Regions from separate parts of the Homo sapiens genome. Here region 2 is linked to region 1. Evidence: promoter capture Hi-C in 16 types of primary human blood cells and fetal thymus (Javierre and others, 2016). All regions are on one chromosome and are shown on one strand. Each heading gives the region's core, a stretch centred on a gene start or on the middle of the fragment in contact. The rest is flanking DNA. Distances are from core to core; before and after follow the strand shown.

Region 1 (4,693 bases), core at 909-3,408:
AATGCAGCCACCATCTGGAAAAAACATAGGTAATTCATTGGACATTTTCCTTTCTTGACTGTTAAAAATTCCTCAACAGTTAACTTATGCAAATTAGTAAGAAGGTACAAATGTCAAAATGACAAAAGGGTACAAAAGTCACAATATGATCATACCGTTTTGGCCTGGTATTGCTATTTAAGTGAAGACATCCAAAAGGGAGAAATATGACAACTGGTATTTGCTTACTTGCCAATGAACTATTACATAATGAATTTTAAAAAATAGAAACATTTCTAATTTCCAGTTGTAAGGGAATGAATGGTTAGGCCCATTGTGATGTTAAAACTAAAATAAGTATTTAGTTGTTAGGGAAAAAATGAGGATTATATTAAAATATGTAAAGTACTTAAGTAAAAGAAGTGGGGAAAGCCAAAATTTTATGGAATTGCTGCAATTCTGTCAGAGTAAACTGGTAGGATCAAAAGATCTGATGTTTATAAACACTTGATGTGAAACGTTTTTCATTTTATTTTACTTTTGCATTGCTTCTGATGTTTAATGTTCCTTTTTAATGTTTATTATTGTTACCATGCTTTCTATTCAATTGCATGTTTTCTACTAAAACTCTTAATATTTAAAAAATATTAAAATCTCACAATCCACTCAACAGAGCGTCTGTCTGACCATAATTCAATGAATCTCTAGATTTGGAAGAGAATTTGTCATCTAGTTTATCCCTTCTAAATCTATCGACCACCCACCACCAGAGTCTTTTTGTTTGTTTTTTTCATCTTTGAGAGGGGCTATCACTGAAGCACCACATTTGTTTGGGGAAAGCATTCTTTAATTTAAAAAAAAATCTTCCTTAGACTGAAATTCACCTCCCAATAACCTTCACTAATTTGGTTAATTTGTTATCAGTTCTATATTTTAGTCTACACAAATCTTATTTTTCTTCTACCAGACAGCTGTGCGATTGCTGTATTTTAGGTCAGGTACTACAGATCTTTAGAACGTTCCCGGCGAAGCAACCCTATTTACCTCAGAATTATCTTAATTCATGTTTGCACTCCCTGATAACCTAGGACATAGGAGTTCAATACTTGCTGATTCCTTCACCATCCTACTCGGTCTGAGTTCCGTTTAGAAATATCCCCCTTACAATGAAATGCTCATAACTCAACACAATCTCCCAAGTGTTGACTGCATTCTGGAGATTTTCATCCTTTAGATGTGAAATCCTCATGAGTTGTGTGGGTTAAGTGAGGGTCCTTAAGTATAGAACGTTACATATATTCACTAAATTTCATTTTCTAAGATTTCACTCCTCATACCGGCCTTCGAATACTTTCTTGGGTAAGGTATCTTTCTTCCAACTTAAGTTACCGCAGCGGGCCCCGGGACCGTAGAAACGGAGATGACCTCAAATGCCACCTATGATAGGTCAATTCTAACCTGAGGGAATGGAGGTTATCTCCTAATTTCGTTACTAAATAAAACGGTCATATACGTGTTACGTGTAAGTCTATATTTCTCTCCCACACACTCCCACCCACATGCTGAGGGTACAACCCAGCCGGTAGCTGGGGCTGCCTGTTACATGAGGCCTTAGATAACGACGACTTAGCCCGCTTTAAAATAAACAAGTACGCTACAGAGAGCGATGAGCAGGACAGGAGATGAAAGAGACTGGCCTGTTCCCAACTCAGCACCTTCTCTGCAAAAACCTGGTATCTTGCCACGGAATGACACCGGAGACAACTCCGAGGACAAAAGACCCTGGGGCATCAAGCACCCGGAGACTGCCTCACAGGCGTTCCCCAGGCAGCTGCGTCGGCGCGCGCCCACCTTCCTCTGCGCGCGGGGATCACGTGCCAGGCGCCGAGCTCCGTCCCGCCCCTTGGCCCTAGGATTTTTACGCCTCCTTCCCCCGCTTGGCGAACGTGCAAGGATGGGGACTGGCTGATGGGGGAGGATTACCTGTGAGCCTAGCGAACCCGGTAATGCTTTCAGGGACTGGGAGCCGCTTCAGATATGCAGGGAGCTGCACCTTCACGATACGGGCCACGCTCTCCAGCACCATCCTGGCCAGCGGCGTCCACTCCTCTCCCGAGCCCCCTCCGCTCTGGCCAAGCTGCCGCGCCTGCGCCGGGAGCGGAAGCGGCCGGCGGGCACTGGCGGCCTCGGCCTGGGCGGCGGGCGGGGCGGCGGGCCCTGGGAGGAGAGGTGACCTGCCGGGCGCCGATTGGCGGCGGGCGAGTGACGTACGCTCGCGGCGGACTGCCGAGGCGCGGGAACTGGCGGGTAGCGAGGCCCTCCTCGGAATCTCGTGTGAAGGTGGCCCTCCTCTTGGGCCTTTAACGTCTGTAGATGCTGGAGACCAGCAGAAAGGATACTGTGTGCGATGAGATAAGCATGTGAGAATGCTTTCTAACCGAAAGTGCCTTTCAAAAGTGAGTCTCTTGCTGTCTCTACTTCGTCCCCTCTCGCCCCGCCTCTTCCCCTACAGTTTGGGTGCTGTGGCCCTAGGGTTGCATACTCGCCCATGAGTATCCTCCCCCTACCCAGACCCCAGTGCCTAATTTTACTCCTTCACCCAAAGGCCAGGCTTAAAAAAATAAAAATTAAAATATTTTAACTAAACCAGGAACTGTTTACATCTCTGCCCCTTGGCAACTTAACTGCAGCCCTAGCTCCAAAAACCTCTGGTTTTTGCCACTCAGAGAAGATTCGTAGTAGTCCTTCCTTAGATATTTTCAGTTCCTTTTCCTTCGGGAAAGTGGTAAAAGAATCCAAAGCTGGCCGGGCGCGGTGGCTCACGTCTGTAATCCCAGCACTTAGGGAGGCCGAGGCGGGTGGATCACGAGGTCAGGAGTTCGAGGCCAGCCAGGTCAAGATGGTGAAACCCCGTCTCTACTAAAAATAGAAAAATTAGCCGGGCGCGGTGGCAGGTGCCTGTCCCAGCTACTCGGGAGACTGAGGCAGGAGAATCGCTTGAACCAGGGAGGCGGAGGTTGCAGTGAGCCGAGAATGTGCCACTGCACTCTAGCCTGGGAGACAGAGCAAGACTCCGTCACAAAAAAAAAAAAAAAAAAGAATCTAAAGCCTTATGTATGGTTTTCTTTATGTTACAAGGCTTCTGCTGAAGTCTAGCGCAGGGGGTCCTTATGGCTTCCCTAGGCCACACTGGAAGAAGAATTGTCTTGGGCCACACATAAATACACTAACACTAATGGTAGCTAATGAGCTAAAAAAAAATTTTTTTTCATAAAGTTTTAAGAAAGTTTACAGATTTGCATTGAGTGGCATTCAAAGCCATCCTGTTGGGCAAGCTTGATCTTGAAGGTTTTAATTTTGTTGTTGTTGTTGTTGTTACAAGGTTTCGCTCTATCGCCCAGGCTGTAGTGCAGTGGTCAGATCATAGCTCACCGCAGACTCTAACTCCGGCTTAAGGGATCCTTCTGCCTCAGCCTTCCAAGTAGCTGGGTTTACAGGCGTGTGCTGCCACACCCAACGAATTTTAAAAATTTTTGTGTGTATGTAGATGGAGTCCCATTATATCGCCCAGGCTGGATAGTTGTTTTTATTAATATCTCTAAAAGATTTGAAGGGTAAGAGGAGAAAATTTCACTCCCTTGAAATAACTTTCTTGCTATGACTTTGTTTCATATTTTGGCTGAAGTCAAAATGTCCGAAGTTGTGCACTTGCTGATTGGATAATGTGTGTGATATCTTAATAATATGCCTCATTATTTACAGTTCTACACTTAACAACATATAATAACGAACTGCTAATGGTCCAGTATTTCATTGTGTATGACAGTGTAACAGCCAGTTATAATAAATACTTTCCATTTTTCCCCTTGGTATTTTTATTTTACAGTGAGAAAAGGAAGGAATTTTTTAAAGCAATCTTTCATTCTCTGGACTGTATAAATTTAGTGTTTGTGATTGTCCTTCACTAAAAAAGAATATCAGTAATAGAGTTGACCAAAATCTAGATTAAATAATTTTCTATCATTATAATTGTTCAAAATTGTTAAAGTAAAACTTACAATGGAAATTCTACAAACACGTTTAGATACAGGTTCATGTTTTTGAGCTAGGGCAGTATAGAAGATGGTGTATACAAAGTGATGTTTAAAAGGTTGATGGGATTTCCTTTAGAGAGAGTTTGGAGGTAAACCCTGGAGCTTTTTTATCCTGAAGATGATGGAACTTGAATATCCTTGTCCTCTGGACTATTCTGTTAACTGTTATCTTTAATCTCTGTGGATCTAATGTAGAAGCACCCTTGGGTACAACTAGATACCCTAGTTGAGGTAGGGGTAGGTTGGAAGTGGGGTACATTAGGAAAAGAAAATCTGGAAAAGGCCATTACCTATTCGTTTCTTCTCTTAGAGGATCTGTCATCTTGACAAGGGCAAGACGTGCTGTGTTGAGTTTAATTTTTCCCCTTGGTATTTTAAAGTGAGAAAAGGAAAGAATTTTTTTAAAGCAACTTTACATTCTCTGGACTGTATAAATTTAATGTTTGTGATTGTTGTGCATTAAGAATAAGACCTCCAAGCAGTTTTTCTTTAAAGAATTAAAAAATACATACCTCAATTTAAAGATATAGTAAAATGCTCAAATGCCAAATGTACAGTTCCAGGTAACCACCACCCACATCAATATACAGAATGTTCAATAGAGGCGTTTTTAAAAAGCG
Region 2 (4,693 bases), core at 627-3,126, 3.0 Mb after region 1:
TTTAACAACACTTTTATGATGTAGGTTCTATATTAGCCCTATTCAACAAATAATGAAATAAGCTTAGCGAAAAAAGGTTGGTTAACTTACTCCAAGTTGCGTGACTAGTAAACATCCAAATCAGACAGAGAAAGATAAAACACAGCAAGAAAGGTTATGAATGATAACTGAAGTTCCTTAAAATTTGGATAGGACAGGATCTAGAAAACAGTGGAAGGCCTATTATTACAACATTATTTTTTAATGCTCTCTTTCAGGACCTAAAGCGATTCTTGTATAAAAAGTTACCAAGGTAAGAAATTTTTAATTTGTTATTGAATAAATTCTATATGCCATATGTTAATTTTATGAAGCATTTTGTCTGTATTTTCCATGTTGTGAAGTATCTCTGAGATTTCCTTTAATATGAATATTTTTTGCCAGCCTCACGTCCTCTGGAAAATTTTCGTCACAACCGCTTTCCTCATTTATGTCAATAAGTTTGCCTTCACTGAGTTCTCTGTGTATCTAGAGCGATAGTGTCAGCATTCCCTTGGTCATCTGTTTCTTCTATAATTCTTTACTTTCTATTTGAAATTCAGCATTTCTATTTGAAATTTCAGCATTATTACTTTTCATTTCTTTGCTGTATTTCGTCTTTGTTGGCCAGTTTCCTCTTTTTATTATCTCTTTTTCTAAATGTCACATACTTTATCATTGGGAGACAAGGAGGTACAAAACTACATGCTTTGCTATCTCTGCATGAGCTGCATAACAGATGCACAGTGACCAACCATCAACATACTTTGAAAGAAATGATGTGGCTGGTTACTGATGACAGTGTGCATCTGTTAATTACATAATTATTTATGTAGTGATTTGTGGACTAAAGAGTTAGAAAAGTTTATACTTTACGTAGTTATTGAGGTATTATGCCATGCTAACTAAAATTTGACCTGTGCTCTTCTGCAGGGAGTGGTATTACTTAACCATAGTAACTAAAATGTGCATATTGGAACTATGCAAAATGAGGGCTTTCTGTGTTTTTCTGTAGTTACCTTAGCGTAATGAAAGGGCGCTCAAATTGGGACGGAGAGATACCCCACTACGCTGGTGATATGATGAAATAGTTAATAGTACATAGTTAATTCACTTAGAAGTCTTAGTGATTTACAGTCCTCTTTTGAGTGTTAGCATCTCTTATTGAAGAAACAGCAAAATTGCATTCAATGTTCTTAAGTTATAAACCGACCAGAAAGATACTCATTAGTCACCTGGAGATCTAATAAAGCAATAATTGATTCTAATTACATCATCTGTGATTATAAGCAATAAAAATGTTTCAGACAATGGGGATCTCATTTTAACTATTAAGTGTGCTCTCAAAATCATAATAGCGTGTGACACTGGATATGATGAAGCTGTCTGTGTAAAGGAATTAGAGAATAATACCAAAAGTATTTATTATATTACTGAGTAGTTCTAATGTTGATCAAAAATAGTTGGAAAGTAAATGCTTGCTTCTTCTTTGAATTTAGATGTCTCTTATCTTTTAACAAAAGGGGAAATATCAGGTTGTTGTGCTTATCCAAGAAATAAATTCAGTTAAAGGATATTTGTTAAAAGCTTTATGAAAATCTTTCATAATGGCAGGAAAGGTATTAGTACTGTCAGTTTTTTTTTTAATAATGAAAAAAAGCCAGTTCAACTCATTATATCATTTATTGAAAATAGGCTTATTGCATCCCAGAACAGTAATAATGAAGAAATAATAATGTTTTGAACATTTATGAAGAATAGTAGAATATACGCTTTGATTTGTTGCTAGATGTATGGGTTTGGATGCAGGCATCCTGCTTCAGAGCCATGGATTCATGCTTTTAACTGTTGTACCTCAGTGCCTCTCAGTAACAAAGTCAGCCAGCTACGGATACTAATGGAATGTGTGTTTTTGTGCGTTTTTTGAATTCTCTGCAAAATATCGTTCTTGTATTTGCAATTTAAAATCTGGTTGTGACCCAAAGCAGTCTCAGGCTTTAATAATCCCACTTTGTATGTTTTAAAACAACCAAATATTTCATAATTATGTGTATAAAACTAAATCCGATGTCTTTGATTAGTAATGCAACATTTGTTTTTAGAAAAAAATGGTTGTTTTAGTAAGCTTAAGGTTTAGATTTCTTCAGAATATTTCACAAAATTTAATTCATTTCTTCTAAAAGTGTAGTATCTCTTAATGAGCCAGTTATTTTTAATTATTAGTAAATTCTATTTATATTACTCTTTGCGCATTGTATGTAGAATTGAAAACAGCTTTTATATTTGTGACCTGATTTCTAAAATTATATACTTAAGAGTGTAAGTAATTTTTCTACTTTCTTGATTCATTTCTCTGTGAAGTCCATCAAAAAGAAAGTCCTTTTATTTTCTTTGGAGCATTAGTTGTATTTAAAGTAATTTCCATGGAAATTTAAAAAAAGAAGCTACCTGTGGTGGCACTAATTTTTCTAAACATTTTTGTGGTCCTCTTTTTACCTGCTTTTTAATTTATTTTGGGGGTAAGTAGTACATTCACAGAGTTCAGATTCAAGACTTAACTGAAGAACATAGAGTGAGAAGCTGCCCATCCTTCCTCTCCAGCCACATGCACAGTTTCCCCTCAAAGAGGCACCCACCATTACCTACAGAGATATTTTATGTACCTATGAGCAGACATGTATATACACGTATTTATACACACAACATACACATATGCCTGCATATTTTGGTACATAATTTATTGCTTCTTCTATACACTGTTCTAAACTGTGTATTTTTTCACTTAAGAATGTAACTTTGAGAGTAATCTTTCCTGGTACATAGAGAACTTCCTCTTTCTCATGGCTGCAGAGTATTCCAGAGTATTCCTTTGTAGGTGTATATCATAACTTACCTTGTCCTTCTTGATGGACAGTTGGATTTGTAATGCTTTACTGTTTCAAATGATGTTGCTTTTGGTAACTGCACAAAATAATTGGCTTATGTACAAATATCTGTAGTATATGTTTTATATAACCTAGTTTTTAACTTAGAAGAATATATTTATTTTATGTATTAATCTTTTTGTTGTTGTTGTTGAGACAGACTCTCGTTCTGTCACCCAGGCTGGGAGTGCAGTGGCGCAATCTTGGCTCACTGCAACCCAGGTTCAATCGATTCTTATGCCTCAGTCTCCCAAGTAGCTGGGATTACAGACAAGCACCACCACACCCAGCTAATTTTTGTGTTTTTGGCTGAGACGGGGTTTCATCATGTTGGCCAGGCTGGTCTCAAACTCCTGACCTCAGGTGATCTGCCCACCTTGGCCTCCCAAATTGCTGGGATTACAGGCGTCAGCCACTGTGCCCGGCCTATGTTATGTATTAATCTTAGAGATATATTTTAATCTATAAATAAGTTTAGGATTGAATGATTAGGAAATCATGCCAATAATAGGATAAAAATAGTATAAAAGTCATTTATAAAGTTATTTTATTCTTATTTTTAATGTAAGGAAGACAAATGATTTTGTTTGTAACATTTTCCATTCATATTTAATAACACTTTTCTGACTTAAAAGTTTTTGACAATGGGATTTTAAAAAATTTAATGTCAGTATTTAAACATTAGGTTAATATAAGTATTTCTTATTCCTTAGTTAATACATTAAAGTTAACACAAAGAATAGATCATTCCGGGTTGCTGTAGGGACATTGAACATATCTCTGAGTTGTAGTTTATAGATACCATAAGATAGTTACAGGACTATAAGATTTATGTTAACAATGAAAGGGTTTTGCATAAATGTTGAAAGTCGAGGAGTGTCACCTTATATTTTTTAACACAGTATATTTGTGCTCTACCATATGTTTCTTAATTGCTAATTTCCCAGGGATTCTCACTGATAACTTAGTACTTTAGTGATAAATTATGTCATTGTCAGTGTGCACAATTGACACCACTGGTATTAGTTAATAAGTGATATTTTTGAATTATGTGCCAGCCTACACTTTACATGCCTTGTATTATTAAATTTCACAGTATCTAAGTAAGTACAGTTATTCCCATTTTCAAATTGTTAATCTGAGGCTTGTAAAGGTTTCATAACTAGCCCAAGATAGCATAAATAATAAGTGGCAGAGCCTGGACTGGAACCCAGATCTTTCTAACTTTAGAGCTATAGCTTGACCGTTCTGCTTACTACTTCTTACGTAAGCATGGCTGAAAGGATTACTGCATAGCCTGCATTCCTTTTGCCCTGTTTCTTCAGCCAGGAACAGTTTTTCCACGTCTTTTCACTTAGTGCCATAACGTCTCAGCTGATGTATTACTGCCTCCAGGAAAGCCTTCTCTGGCCCACTGTCTGTCTGCATCAGCCTCCTCTTTTCTAGGTTCTCATATCCCTATGAACTTTTTAACAACACTTGCCACCAGTTTTAGTTTTACGTTTGTTATTGTGAGATTATTTTATTGGTAACACATTCACTTTTTACATTGGAAGCCATGTGAAGGCAATGATTGTGCTTATTTCTGTTTTTCATAGTATCAAAGTATTAAGTGCCACAAATACTGGCCGCTTAATATTTGCATGAATGAAAAAGGAAAAAGGCTGTTTTTTGTCACTATAGCCCCTGCTGATAATCTTTCATGCTTTTGTGTACCATGGACTGATCATTCATTAGTAGTTTTAATGGAG

Evidence for each region. The method cuts DNA at HindIII sites, captures the fragments that hold promoters and counts their contacts. A CHiCAGO score of 5 or more calls a contact.
Region 2: a contact is called between a fragment that was not itself captured here and the fragment with the promoter of CISD2 in region 1, in 1 of 17 cell types (total B cells). The highest score is 5.0, in total B cells.

Annotation. Positions count from the first base shown.
Region 1 is chr4:102,866,457-102,871,149 of GRCh38, reverse strand. CISD2 (CDGSH iron sulfur domain 2) reads right to left here and starts at 2,158. Exons shown (of 3, transcript NM_001008388.5): 1 at 1,963-2,158. The coding sequence starts at 2,065. It also overlaps a transcript of UBE2D3 not described here. RefSeq lists silencers at 1,898-2,017, 2,048-2,337 and an enhancer at 2,568-2,707. The HindIII fragment of the contact is 11,662 bases long and covers 1-3,316 here.
Region 2 is chr4:99,887,599-99,892,291 of GRCh38, reverse strand. It overlaps LAMTOR3 (late endosomal/lysosomal adaptor, MAPK and MTOR activator 3), which reads left to right. Exons shown (of 7, transcript NM_021970.4): 3 at 258-292. Among named protein-coding and RNA genes, the nearest start is that of LAMTOR3, 4.5 kb to the left of the region's middle. The HindIII fragment of the contact is 538 bases long and covers 1,608-2,145 here.